3 separate regions of the Homo sapiens genome follow, and all the other regions are linked to region 1. The links are contacts of gene promoters, found by promoter capture Hi-C in blood cells and fetal thymus (Javierre and others, 2016). All regions are on one chromosome and are shown on one strand. The core of a region is centred on a gene start or on the middle of the fragment in contact, and the rest is flanking DNA. Distances in the headings are between cores, read along the strand shown. Region 1 holds the start of PRAG1 (PEAK1 related, kinase-activating pseudokinase 1). Region 2 has its middle 110 kb from the start of CLDN23. Region 3 has its middle 87 kb from the start of LINC02950.

Region 1 (4,348 bases), core at 534-3,033:
TGCCTGGAATTATCTCCTATTTGTTTTAAGTAAAAGATGGTGAGAAACACAAGTGGCACCCACAAAGCCTTGCCTCGCCTTGCCTGGTGCAGCAGTGCCAGCTCTCCACAGCATGGGGAAGGCACTTCGCAGCCCACATTCCTTACTTCTGAGGGGAGGCAGCCCCCAGAATTATGCAAATCCTCCCCATTTCAGTAGGAGGCTGCAGTGTCAGATTAGAAAAAAGAGCTCAGCATTCTTTCTGATCCAAGTCATGAAAAAAATGTCTTTGCCTCTGCAAACTTCTGCACTAGATTTGTGGCTACAGTTTGCAAGACTGAAGCTGTCAGATACACTCCCACCCCATTTCAAAAAAGAATCTGAAGAATCAAGGTGGCCAGATCTTTAAGATTAAATATTTTGGCCCAAAATACCCCCTCAGACTTACATCAGAAGTTGCTTATGCCTTATTCTGAAGTGACAGAATTGCAGAAAACATTCACCTAAAATTTTTTTCTGTATGTTACAGTTAAATTAATGCAACGCCAGTAAAAGGAAAGAAATATGTGTGGAAAGTGTCTGAACTTCAGCACACTCCACTGGCCAGGGCTGACCAGGCAGAAAGGAGAAAGTGACAACTTTACCACCCACTAGCCCCCTGCCTCCCTACTCACGCAGAGGGTAAATTACGATATTCACCCAACTTTTCCTTTTCTTTTTTCTTCCTCCAGTGCTGGAGGAAAGAAAATCTCAGAGGGAGGAATGTGGTTTTGCACCCACTACAGTCGAAACCAACCAGACCTCAGGAGAGAAAAATAACTGCGGAATTCCCTAGGGCTTTCTGTCAAATTTTCTTCTCAGAAAGGGAAGGGGAGAGGAGTTGTTAAGAATAGTTCAGGCCAGTGATCAGGAAAGCCTTCTGAGCCTGACTCCGCACTGAATGCATCGCCAAAACTCCTCGCCCCTAGACCATTGGGCTTTGCTATCGGCTCTGCAAAACCATGTGCAGGGAGAGCTTACCTGAGAGAAACGCACACACCGTGAGCTGGCGCTCTCCGCTGCGAATGCCCGGCCGCCTCCATGCCCAGCAGAGGATTCTATGTTCTAAGTGTGTGTGTCCCCGGATACCAGCAAAGGTTAATAACGTGCTCACAGCATGCGTTTCAGAGGGCTCAGCCAGGGCTCGGGGAAAAGGGCATCATCTCGTTGCCTCTGGAGCCCCGCTGCTGCATACCCTGCACCCCCAAACCATCCCCCCGGGTCCTGGTCCCAGCAGCCAGGCGGCCTTCCGTCTCTCCCCCTTGACAATACTCTAGCGGTGGAAAGCAGTCCTCAAAGCGCTTCAGCCTCCGGCCGCAGACAGAGCAGCAAGACCAGAGAAACCATCCTAACAGTCGGTCCTCCCTCCTGGAACTCGTAGGAAAGTTTCCCCGTTTTAAAGAGCGCGATTCTCGAATGAATCAAAAACACCCTCCAGCTCCTCGGTCCTCCCGGCCGGGCGCCTCCCTGCACCTCGGGCACCACCCGGGGCTCACGCGGCCCCGGCACTGCCCACTTCCCGAGCGGTCGCCTGTCACCCCGGGGGTAGCCCGCTCGGCGATCGCAGCGCCCCTCCAAAGCTCCCCTCTGCGACCACGCTCGCCAGACAAAAAGAGGCCGAATTTGGAGAGCGCGTCGCGGGCTCACCTCTGGGCTGCGCTCCCCCGGCCCCTCCGTCGGTCTCCGAGCCGCCAGCCGCCCGGCCGGAGCATTGTTCGCAGAAGGTCTGCGCGCGGTGCGTGCCCGGCCGCGGGCGGGTGGCTTCTGCCTGGGCCCGGCGGCCGGGTGGCAGCTGTGAGCGCGGCTCCGCCCCCTCCGCCTCCGGTGACGCCGCCCGCCCCAGCTCACGCCGCACCTCCGCAGTCCCTGCCGCCGCCCGGCCCCGCCTGGCCCGCGCGCCCCGCCGCCCGGCTTGCGCCTGCCGCTCCCACCCGGCGGTCTCCTACCCCCAGGGCCCCGACTCCTCCAAAGTCTCCAGGCCCCGGGACTCCCTCTCTTGCCCACCCTCCCGCCCCGGACCGGCAGGCTCCGCCCCCAGCCCCAGACTTGGCGCGGGCTGACCCCCGAGCCCAGCACCCGTTTGCACCCCCTCCTCGGTGGGGACCCTGCACAGCTCTGGAGGGGCGAGCTCTGGCGTTGCAATCCTCCTTTTGCCATCATGCGTGTATAGGTGCCCGGCATCACTTCATCCAGCCGGCCCTGCGGGACCCTGGGAAGAGAGGGAGAAGGAAGGGGAAACGAGGAAGTGTGGGGTCGGGAGTGGAATACAGGTCAGGGTCCGAGGCGGGCTCTGAAAGCCACGTGAGCACAGCGAGCCTCAGCTCTCCCTACCTCTGGGAAGAGGGTGGCGCCGGAGGGAGCAGGGCTGGAAGTCCCGGTGGCGGATTCCAGGTTCCGCTCAGTCCCTGGACTGCAGGATTCTGGCAAATTGCTTAACCTCTTTGAACTTTAGTTTTCTGGATGTAGAATGCAAGCGTTGCACTGCAGGGACCTGGCCTTCTACCATGCTGGGACATCCAAGTCTTCCGCAGGCCAGTAATACACCTGTGTTTACACCGTTTCCAGTGAGTCATTCACTGAGATAGAACGAGTTCGAGATAGTCCTCGGGCTAAAAAAATCTTTTCACTGGGAGTATAATAGCTTAAGACCCAGTCAGTCCTGTAGCTTGACCTGGGTGTTTACTCGGGGAGCCAGGGCTATGGTCACCTCCCAGGGCCATGCCGGGTGGGAAGAATTCAGTGAAATGGAATAGGAAGAGGACCCCCCTCCCCCACAAAACAATACCTGCGGCTTCTCTCGCCCTCTATCCCCTCCCCAGGAAGGCAGTTTATTTTGACTCCAGTGAAGGTCCTCTGCCAGTCAGCCTGCGAGCCCCCACCCACTGAGAGGAGGAAGATGGGCCCCCACCCCCACCCCCAGATCCCTGGCTCTCCTCTTTGCTGCTGTGGGTGTGGACAGAGAGGGAAGATGTGTATTTGAGGTTTGGCTTCTGTGTGAGGAAAGGGAAAAAAGGATCCAGGGAATTCTTCCTCATGTTCCAGTGACACCCATGCCTCCTAAGAGGACAGAATCTGGGGGAAGCTGTAGAGGGATGGGAGTGCAATGGACATTCCTTAAGGACCTACCCAGCGCTAAGCAATCCTATGAGGAGAGCATCATTATCCCCATTCTACAGATAAGAAAACTGAGGCTCGGGGGCCTCACAATTTGCTGGGGTTCCTCAGCTGAAAAGTGGTAGTACTAAGATTGGAACCAAAGGCTGTCTGGCTTCGCTGGTAGGCAAGTCTACTCTGCCACTCTGCCCTTGCCAAGTGCAGGTAGTCCAGCCCTATTTTTCTCTCTCCCCTAAGTGGAGAGAAATCATTTGAACAAATACTGGCCGTGCGCGGTGGCTCACACCTGTAATCCCAGCATTTTGGGAGGCCGAGGCTGGCAGATCACCTGAGGCCAGGAGTTCAAGAACAGCCTGGGCAATGTGGTATAACCTCATCTCTACTAAAAATACAAAAATTAGTCGAGTGTGGTGGTGGGCGCCTGTAATCCCGGCTACTCAGGAGGCTGAGGCAGGAGACTCACATGAGCCAGGGAGGTGGAGGTTGCAGTGAGCTGAGATCGCACCACTACACTCCAGCTTGGGTATCAGAGCAAGACCCTGTCTCAAAAAAAAAAAAAAAAAAAAAAGGAAGGGAAACTTTGGTTACACTTCATGAGCATCCAACAGAGCTGAAAGATCCAGACCCTACCAAGACTCAAGAGGGGAAGATGTTGATTAAACAGGTAGGTACAAAGTGGTCTGCAATGGAGAAATACAAAAGTGACTTCAGAAAGTGTGCAATTCATTTACACTGGGAGAGGGCAAACTAAGATGTTTGAGAAGTTCCTGGTTCTCAGGATTCAGGCTAAATGTTTCACTTCTTTCCTCTGTAAGAGAGACATTGACCTCACAGAATAAAGGCTGTGCTGAACACATAAAAGAAGCACTTACTTTTGCACTTTATTTTCTTCTCTTTACCTAACTTATTCTTTTTTTTTTTTTTCCTGGGATGGAGTTTCATCTTTCAATCAGGCTGGAGTGAAGTGGCAAGATCTTGTCTCACTGCAGCCTCCACTCCCCGGGTTCAAGCCATTCTCCTGCCTCAGCCTCCTGAGTAGCTGGGATTGCAGGCGGCCACCACCATGCCCTGCTAATTTTTCTATTTTTAGTAGAGACAGCATTTCACCATGTTGGGCCAGGCTGGTCTTGAACTCCTGACCTCAAGTTATCTGCCTGCCTCGGCCTCCCAAAGTGCTAGGATTACAGGTGTGAGCCACCGCGCCCGGCCCCTAATT
Region 2 (4,522 bases), core at 935-3,434, 200 kb after region 1:
CACTTCCCCGGTTAAATGTCTGATATTGTAGTACAAATAGAATTCCCAACAATTGGGCAAATCAGCAGAAAAGAGAGTTTCAGGAACAAGGTATCACACAAGCAAACTAGGAAAACATAAAACACCATTGTCTAAGAGGCAAAATCATAATCCCTCCTGGAAGTGCAGGCAGGCCCCTGCAGATGGTTTGGAGTACAAGGTACAGAAGCGGGAAACGAAGATGGTGAGGCAGGGCCACCTCAGAGATGGCATCTTGTAACAAATGAAGGGGCTCTAGGGAAAGAGATTCTGCTGAAGTTTTTAAGCAAGGAGAGACAGGTCCAGATTTGCCCCATAGAAGGATTGCCCTGGAAGTAGCAGGGGGCCAGGTGTGTTGGTTCATGTCTGTAATTCCAACATCTTGGGAGGCTGAGGCAGGTGGATCACCTGAGGTCACAGTTCAAGGCCAGCCTGGCCAACATGGTGAAACCCCTTCTCTACTAAAAATACAAAAAAAAAAGAAAATTAGCCCAGCATTGTGGCATGTGCCTGTAATCCCAGCTACTCAGGAGGCTGAGGCAGGAGAATCGCTTGAACTCAGGAAGTGGTTGCAGTGAGCCAGGATCGCACCACTGCACTCCAGCCTAAATGACAGAGTGAGACACCGTCAAAAAAAAAAAAAAAAAAAAAAGGAGGGAAGATGAATTTCGCAGAGGAAGTACTGCTGCACCGGGAGAAGCCATGGGCAGGTAAACCCTTTGGGTCACTAAACTCCCTATCCTTGGCTCCTGTACTTCTCTCACACTGCAACCCAGTATTTCCAGAAACTCTGTTGTCTTTACTTTCAAAATATTTCTACAACCTGCCTTTTCTCACCACCTCCACTGCTACCACCCTGTCTCAGCCACCAATATCTCTCACCTGGATTGTGGCTACAGCTGCCAGCCTTGTCTCCCGGTTTGTCTCTGGTTTCTTAAGTTTGTTCTCAAGGCAGCAGGCAGAGTGACCTTCTTAAAACAAACATCAGGTCCCATGATTCCTCTGCTCAAAACTCCACAATGCCTCTTCGTCCTGTTCAGCTGAAGTTCACATAGTGAACCCTCATCGCACTTCTAATCACTCTCTCCTGGCTCCTGCGCCTCCAGCTGTGTTGTTTCACTTGCACACTAGCAGCCACGTTCCCAATTGAAGGCCCCTTCCCTCTGTCTGCCATGTTTTCCCCCAGGGAACACGTGGCTTTTCTCCTTCAAGCCTTTCATAAAATGTTATCTTCTCAAAAAGGCTTACTCCAATTATCCTATTTAAAAAGGCAAACTACAGCTTCTCCACCCAAATTCCTCCTAGCACCTATGTCCTATGCATAGTAGTTATTATTATCATTTCTTTTTTGAGACGGAGTTTCACTCTTGTTGCCCAAGCTGGAGTGCAATGGCATGATCTTGGCTCACTGCAACCTCTGCCTCCCAGGTTCAAGCGATCCTCCTGCCTCAGCCTCCCGAGTAGCTGGGATTACAGGCATGTGTCACTACACCTGGCTAATTTTTGCATTTTTAGTAGAGATGGGGTTTCACCATGTTGGTCAGGCTGGTCTCGAACTCCTGACCTCAGGTGATCTGCCCACCCTGGCCTCCCAAAGAGCTGGGATTACAGGCGTGAGCCATCGCACCCAGCCAGCAGTTATTTTTTAAATTTACTACATAATTTCTTAAAATTCATTATATTTTTTAAATTTGCTGTACAATTTACCCATTCATTATGTTTTTATTTTCTGCCCTCTTTTTTCCCCTAAATATTCTAGGGCAGGGATCTTTGTACATTTGGTTTACTAATTGTATCCCACTTTCCTAGAATGGTGCCTGGCATGCAATATATCCCCAACAAATATTTTTTGAATAAGTAGCAGTAGTTCAGATAAGCTATAAGGGACTGAATTAGAACTATGATACTGCAAAGAAAAGGAGAAAGACTTCAGATATAGTCATAAGATTTCCCAATTACTCAAAAGTGCTGGGTGACAGAAGGGGAATGGTGTGGAATGAATGTCAGGCTTGGATGACTAACTGGGACAGAGGACAACTTGGTATGGAGGACAGGGAAGATAATGACGAGCTCTGTTCGGGACATTTTTGGTTGGACTTGGCTTTGGAATACTCAAGTGGAGACTCCGCAGGAAGTTAGAATTCAATTTTAAAGCTCACTAGAGAGATTAGAACAGATGCTGTACAATTAGAAGCCATCAGCAAACTGACTTGCAAATAAGCTATTGGCACCCTAACTCAAGGGACTAGATATCAGTAGCCAGCAAGAACTCTATATTATGTTATATTCATACAGAGAAAATATAATGCATATAATGCATACAGAGAAAAGAGAATTTCCAGGCACATTCTACAAGAGATGGCAATATTTGTCTATAATTTCAAATTTTATTCTCCAAGGCTGGTTTTTCCTATGAGATATGAGCTATAACATCCCAAGATGAAACAAAGATTTTCAAAAGTCAAGGTGAAACCATTCATGGGGTGATTACATTTTGTTCAACTGAAAAGTATTAAACACATACACACATACACACACACACAAACTTAATTACGTTGTTTATCTCAGATAATCATCTAAGTGTTGGTGAAAGGGCAAAATATGACTTTTCCCTCTAAACTAAAACACAACATTTCCCCCTCCCCCAGGAATCTCATAGATTTTTAAAAGGCATCGTATGAAGGCAGGTAATATTATCTTGCTTTACAAAGGGGTCAGTTCACAAAAAGGTTAAGGTAATTCCCAAGGACTGTATAAAGAGTCAGAGGGCGACTCCTGGAACAAATCTTCAAAATCTTGGATCTCAGGCCCAGGGTCCCCAAACTGAGGTCATCCTTCTGGTCACAAAGGCTTAGGCAGATTTATGAGATAAGCAGGAGTCACAGCAGTAACGTTAGATTTCGTGGTTTGAATGCTAATAGTTCACTCTTTCTCTGCTCTTTGAAAACTCGTCTCCTTTAATTTCTGCCTATTTTTTAAGCCTGGATGCTTTAGAGCCTAAAGCATCTGTATGTTTTTTGTACCTCTTCTGTCTGTATCTTCTGGTCCTGAATCCTGCTGACCCAGAGATGGGGCTAGGAGTTGCAGGGGCTTCCTTCTTTCTCTGTGGTGGGGAAAGGGCTCCTGATTTTGTCTCATGATGCAAAGAAGTGGTATCAAAATCCAGAAACTTGAAATTCTGAGTAAGGCTCTGTCCTAAAGATCCCAGTGAGGTTGGAAATATTGCCCCTGGTTTCTTGTTCTGCAAAATGAGGAGGTTGGACTTCATCCTTTGGGGTTGTTTTTTGCTCCATAGGTCCATAACTGTATGTTAAGTGAATAAGTCCATTTGAATGGTAGCATCAAAAGGTAGCCAATTCCATTCAAATAAACCAAAATGAATAAACAGTTATATGTCTGTGCTATTTTTGTTCACCAGAATTCTGGGGGCCCCACTGGACAGACTGTCCCACCACATGGAGTGGCTCCTCAATGGAGGAACAGTGTGATCTGGGGGTCAGGGCGTGGGGGTGATGGCAGAGCCAGCATGCAGTGGGGAAGGTGTTTATCTGGAAAATGAGAAAGGCCGTATAACACATGATGGGGTTTTTCCCTATGACACCTCAGATCTTCAATTAAGCACAAAACACAGTGAGATTGCATTGCCTGTGGGAAATAGAGAAAGGCAAGCTCTGCGTTTGGCTTTACATCCAAATCGGACTTAAGGTGACACAGTGAAGAATCTATGGGATCAGAAATAAAAACAGGGAAAAATGAAAGGAAAATGTAGAATTTGTGGGGGGAGGGTGGGACTCTGAACTCCTCCAACCTAGAATAACAGCTAGAGCCTAATGTTACCTAAACTCATGAGAGAAAGCATGGCCCCGAATGATACATCATAATATTTGGGTTACATAAAAAATATTTTAGGCCAAATGTCAGAATTATTTCCCCAAATATTAATATGAATATTACACCAAAAGAACCCTGAATCTTCATTGCAAAACAAAATTAAGCAAAATAATTAATATTAATGACTGTAACTTCATTCAAACCCAATGCTGAAACAACGATACGTACCACTTAACATAAAACATTCCTAAAATCATATTCATGAAGCCACTGCAAATGTTTATATATATCTACACTCATTGACAGGGAAGTACTACACAAGGTAATGTGTTTTTAAAAAAAGAAAAACAGGCCAGGCACGGTGGCCCATGCCGGTAATCCCAGCACTTTGGGAGGTCAAGGTGCACAGATGGCTTGAGCTCAGGAGTTCAAGATCAGCCTGGGAAACATGGTGAAACCCCACCCCTACAAAAAAAAAATACAAAAATTAGCTGGGCATGATAGCATGCACCTGCAGTCCCAACTACTGGAAAGGCTGAAGCAAGACAATCGCTTGAGCACAGGAGGTAGAGGTTGCAGTGATTTGGGATCGTGCCACTGCACTCCGGCCTGGATGACAAAGTGAGACTGTCTCAAACAAGTGAATAAATAATAAAAAAAGAAAAACAAAACC
Region 3 (4,522 bases), core at 689-3,188, 160 kb after region 1:
GCTTGATGTAGGCACATTTCAGGCCCTGATCCTTCAGAGGCCAATTTTTATAAAGAAATGGCATGCCCATTCATATCTGGTAAATGTAGGATGTCCGATGCAGCGTGCAATTCCACCTGCTTATTAGGGTTTTCCTTTCATCCCTTTATGTTAAATTCAGTATGTCTACACCACACTCATAGATTTTCCTTACAAAAACTGCATGGATTCTTGGTTATTCTTTTGGCAATGACAGTCATGCACACTTAAAACTCTGAGGCTCATGTTCTATTCTTCCTTCTCCCTTACTTCTCCTTCCCTGCCAAGGCCTCTCAGTTACCAAGTCCAGAAGATTCTTTTACAACATCTCTACCATCGATCCCTTAATTTTCTACTGCTTGGTTGGTAGTTCAGGTGCTAATTGCCTCACCCCGGTCTGCTCTATTTAGCCTCATTTTTTTTTTTTTTAGTGAAATGTTTTTTATTTCATGCATGAACAACTTCAAGTCTCTTTATTAGAGAAATTCTATATATTGGTAATATAAGCCATGGGTCACTGTGGGTTAGTTCTTTAAAAATTAGAACCAGGCCAGGCGTAGTGGCTCACACCTGTAATCCCAGCATTTTGGGAGGCTGAGGCGGGTGAAAACCTTGAGTCTAGTAGTTCGAGATTAGCCTGGGCAACATGGCAAACCCTGTCTCTACAAAAAATACAAAAATTAGCGAGGCATGGTGGCGTGTGCCTGTGGTCCCATCTACTCAGGAGGCTGAGGTGAGAGTATTGCTGGAGTCCGGAAGGCAGAGGTTGCAATAAGCCAAGACCACACCCCTGCACTCCAGCCTGGGTGACAGAATGAGACCCTTTCTCAAAAAAATAAATAAAAGTGAAAAATAAAAATCAGAACTACTAATTAGCATCAAACTCTTCTCTCTGTTATTTTGTGAAGTGTTGTGTGCAGTCATATTCTATTGCTGCAATGACAATTCATACAAATTTTAAGAAAATCATAAGATGCATAGGAATGCCAAGTTTTCCCACTCAGTGGCTTTCTTCATCATCTCACGCAGTCTGCATGGATGAACTGAACCATAAAAGGAGGTGGGAGGTGAGAGAGATTTCCAATGGTCACTGTTTCTTCATATGATCTTGACCCATATCTTTATATATGTGCCCACAGTTAAAGGTTGCTGCTGGACATTTTAGCCCAATGACCACGCCTTGCTTGGAGCCTGGTAATGTTTATCACAAACTACATAAAGATCAAAAGTTCTGATTGTAGGCCATGCCTAGTGGCTCATGCCTGTAATCCCAGCACTTTGGGAACCCAACGCGGGTGGATCACCTGGGGACAGGGGTTCAAGATCAATCTGGCCAACATGGTGAAACTTCGTATTTACTAAAAATACAAAAATTAGCTGGGCATGGTGTTGTGCACCTGTAGTCTCAGCTACTTGGGAGGCTGAAGCAGGAGAACTGCTTGAACCCGGGAGGCAGAGGTTGCAGTGAGCTGAGATCATGCCACTGCACTCAAGCCTGGGTGACAGAGCAAGATTCTGTCTCAAAAAAAAAAAAAAAAAATCTGATTGTAAAATATTACCTTTCCCTATATACTCTGCTTTAGCCTCACTAAGTAGCATATTTAGAAAAATATGGAGAGAATGGATTTTTGAAGGCAAGTCAGACTACCCTAAACACACAAGGAAAAAAATACAAGCTTCCTCCTCACACAGTGCTGAGCATCTAATATTGTTAAGAAATATTTAGGTGGCAAAATGATAGTGTGTGGAAATGGAATTGACTGGATAACACAACACAGAAATTATTTTTTTTAAATATTTTAACCTAAAAAACAATAGTGAATCATCATAAAAACAGAAACAAATTTGTCTGGAAATCAATCAACCCATCCAGGCAATTAAATGGTGTAATAGAGTAAAAAAATCTCATTCTTTCTAGCTCTGCCACTGTAAGTATCTTTGGAAACATGACTAATTTACCTTCCCATTTGAAGATTAGACATAACATATTCATATTTGTCACAGATATTTTTACAAAATTTTGTGGCCCCCTGTGGAAGTTCTAGTGAAGTACAAGAAATTAAACAGCCTGGAGTATACAAACAGAATGTCTAGACTATTTTAAAAAGTAACCATTTGACACACTTTAAAAATAGTCATCAATGCGTTTATTTCAAAAATTATAATAAGCTTTTTTAATAACAAAAAGATATTTTGTCCCTAGGTATGTAATATTCAAGAAATGTACCCTTTTATCTTTATGTAAAGACAGCATGTATAATGTAATGGAAATTTTATGTAGGTACTTTTTTAAAAAAAAGCTGTCTTTACATGTTAGCTAAATGTTTTTGAAGTTTAACTGGATGTTATTGTAAGCCTTAAAAATAAAAACTGCTTAAACATTTTGGAATGTTCTATTGAAATTAGTTATCACAGTGAACTTTAAGGGTATGATTTTGTTACCTATTATCAAACATTTCTTTCTTCCAGCCTCATAATAAAAAAGTAACAGTCCTTAGCTCCAATCACAAATAGAATAAATATGACTATAATTTCACAGAGAGAGAGAACATCAAGGTCAAATTTTCAAAGCCACACGGAGATTAGATTGGCACAAATGAATGTATGCATGTATTATAGTCAAGTGAATAAAGTGAAAGTACATATATTGTGTATTCATATCAACGGATACTGTAGGGAAGCTGTTCTCTTAGGCAGGAATTAGCTGTAGTTGACTGAGTTTGCAAAGTACAGCAAGGTTATTAAATAAACAATACAGTAAGACATTCCACTTAACCCAGATCATAAATGAAATCAATCGCAGGCTGTTCATGTCTGTGCTGTGGAAGGCATAAACTGCATTTCCTCTTTCTGTAAGTGGACTGATAAAGAGAAAGGGTGTGCAGTGGATACTGCTCAGCCTGCCCTTTAAAATTATTCTACAGAAAGAGAGAAAGAAACAGAGACCGAGATTGCAACTGACTAACAGTGTGCTGTTCATTGACTCAAGGCACCCAAATCACACGGGCTGCCTCAAAGGTTCCCCACAGGTGGCAAAAGAGACAAACGACCTTCTGGGGCTCTACTTCCAGCAGACAGCAGAGTACATGCAGAAAGAGAATCACTGCAGAGCAAGACCAGCCAGATCGCACTCCCTGCTCAGGCAGCCTCTCTGGGACTGTGGAAATGCTTTGAAACACCCAGCATTGAATAAATGAATGAGTGAGCCCCTGTGCAGTTCATTCACAGGACTTGCACTGAGATGGGGTTGTTTGAAGGAGCTGGGGCGCTCTTCACAAGGAGGAACCTGAATATACCAAATGGCCTGCCTAAGGCCTCCTGCAGTCCTTTGGTTACATGGTCTCTTGGGAGGAGTTTATTGAGATGAGCTTTGCGGCAGTCAAGTTTCCTTTTGTTTGTGGGAAGTAAAACGCAAGAGCTTGTTGAAGAGACCCCTGAGTCAACTTTCCTGAAGCCCACAGTGAGGGAGTGGGGTGGAGGAGGGGATCCCGATAATGGAAGCTCACATTCAATTGTCTGATTTGTGTGCCTCTCCTCAGTGTGGGAGCAAATCACCTTTCAGTTCAATAACAAATGCAATTCAGACCTAGGTGTCAAAGAAAGGCAGGACTTGTCAAATCCTCATCACAGAGATACTGAACACAAAGACCCAGCATCTAGGTCTAGCCACTTCCAGGTTTGCTCATGGCTGACTTCCGGTCCGGTTAGACTGCATCCAGATGAAAAGTCATTCTGATTGGTTGCAGGTTCTGTAGCGACCATAGTTCTTTTGAAGATGGCCTCTGTCTAAATTCTCAGCAGTCCACGGCATTTAAGGAGCCCAGGAAGTTCACAAGAAACAGCTGTAATTACAACAGAGAGAGGAAGGAGGGCAGGGAGGGATCCAAACATGCGAACAAGTTAGCCATCTTTTTTTCTGGATGGAAAATTAAGTGTTTTCTTTAACCCAGAGCCAAAGGCAAGAGGGAAAAAATTTGGAAGAAGCATTGTTCATACCACTCCTGAAGCTGCCCTAGGGAGGCATACTTTTTACTCTTTCTTCTGCCCTCATCTGTAAAACACTTTCCTTAGTTCTAGTCCTTTACTCCATTTCATATTATGCTTTACACTACTAGTCGTAGCTTTTACAATATGTGTGATCCTTGAAGGTAGAGAGGAAGCATATCACACTTTTTGTCACCTCTATTATACCTTGCATGTTGCATAGCTTTTCTTGGCCTGACGAATTAATGCAAATAAGTGTGGTCTTGCTCAGTGGGTTCAGTGCTGTCTACTCTAAACTAAGCAAGACTCTGGAATAATATGAGACTTTTATCCAGAGAAAAAATGATCTGCCTCAACCCACTCTTATTTCCTACTTTTTCAGAGAGGTGAAGACTCTGCCAGTGGCCTCAGTAGGCTCCAGTTGTATGTGAATGTGTGGGTGTGTGGTCCTGCATGGGTCAAACACAGCTCCCACTTCAGGGAGGATGTGGGGACAACAACATGGCTGCTGATTCATAGT

The links. The method cuts DNA at HindIII sites, captures the fragments that hold promoters and counts their contacts. A CHiCAGO score of 5 or more calls a contact.
Region 2: a fragment that was not itself captured here is called in contact with the fragment with the promoter of PRAG1 in region 1 in 1 of 17 cell types (M1 macrophages); the score reaches 6.7 in M1 macrophages.
Region 3: a fragment that was not itself captured here is called in contact with the fragment with the promoter of PRAG1 in region 1 in 6 of 17 cell types (M2 macrophages, M1 macrophages, M0 macrophages and 3 more); the score reaches 20.3 in M2 macrophages.

Annotation. Positions count from the first base shown.
Region 1 is chr8:8,384,656-8,389,003 of GRCh38, forward strand. It overlaps PRAG1 (PEAK1 related, kinase-activating pseudokinase 1), which reads right to left and starts at 1,784. Exons shown (of 6, transcript NM_001080826.3): 1 at 1,666-1,784. RefSeq lists a silencer at 1,487-2,166. The HindIII fragment of the contact is 9,968 bases long and covers 1-4,348 here.
Region 2 is chr8:8,585,191-8,589,712 of GRCh38, forward strand. No RefSeq gene overlaps it. Among named protein-coding and RNA genes, the nearest start is that of CLDN23, 110 kb to the right of the region's middle. The HindIII fragment of the contact is 8,196 bases long and covers 1-4,522 here.
Region 3 is chr8:8,545,711-8,550,232 of GRCh38, forward strand. No RefSeq gene overlaps it. Among named protein-coding and RNA genes, the nearest start is that of LINC02950, 87 kb to the left of the region's middle. RefSeq lists enhancers at 4,344-4,423, 4,444-4,522. The HindIII fragment of the contact is 493 bases long and covers 1,693-2,185 here.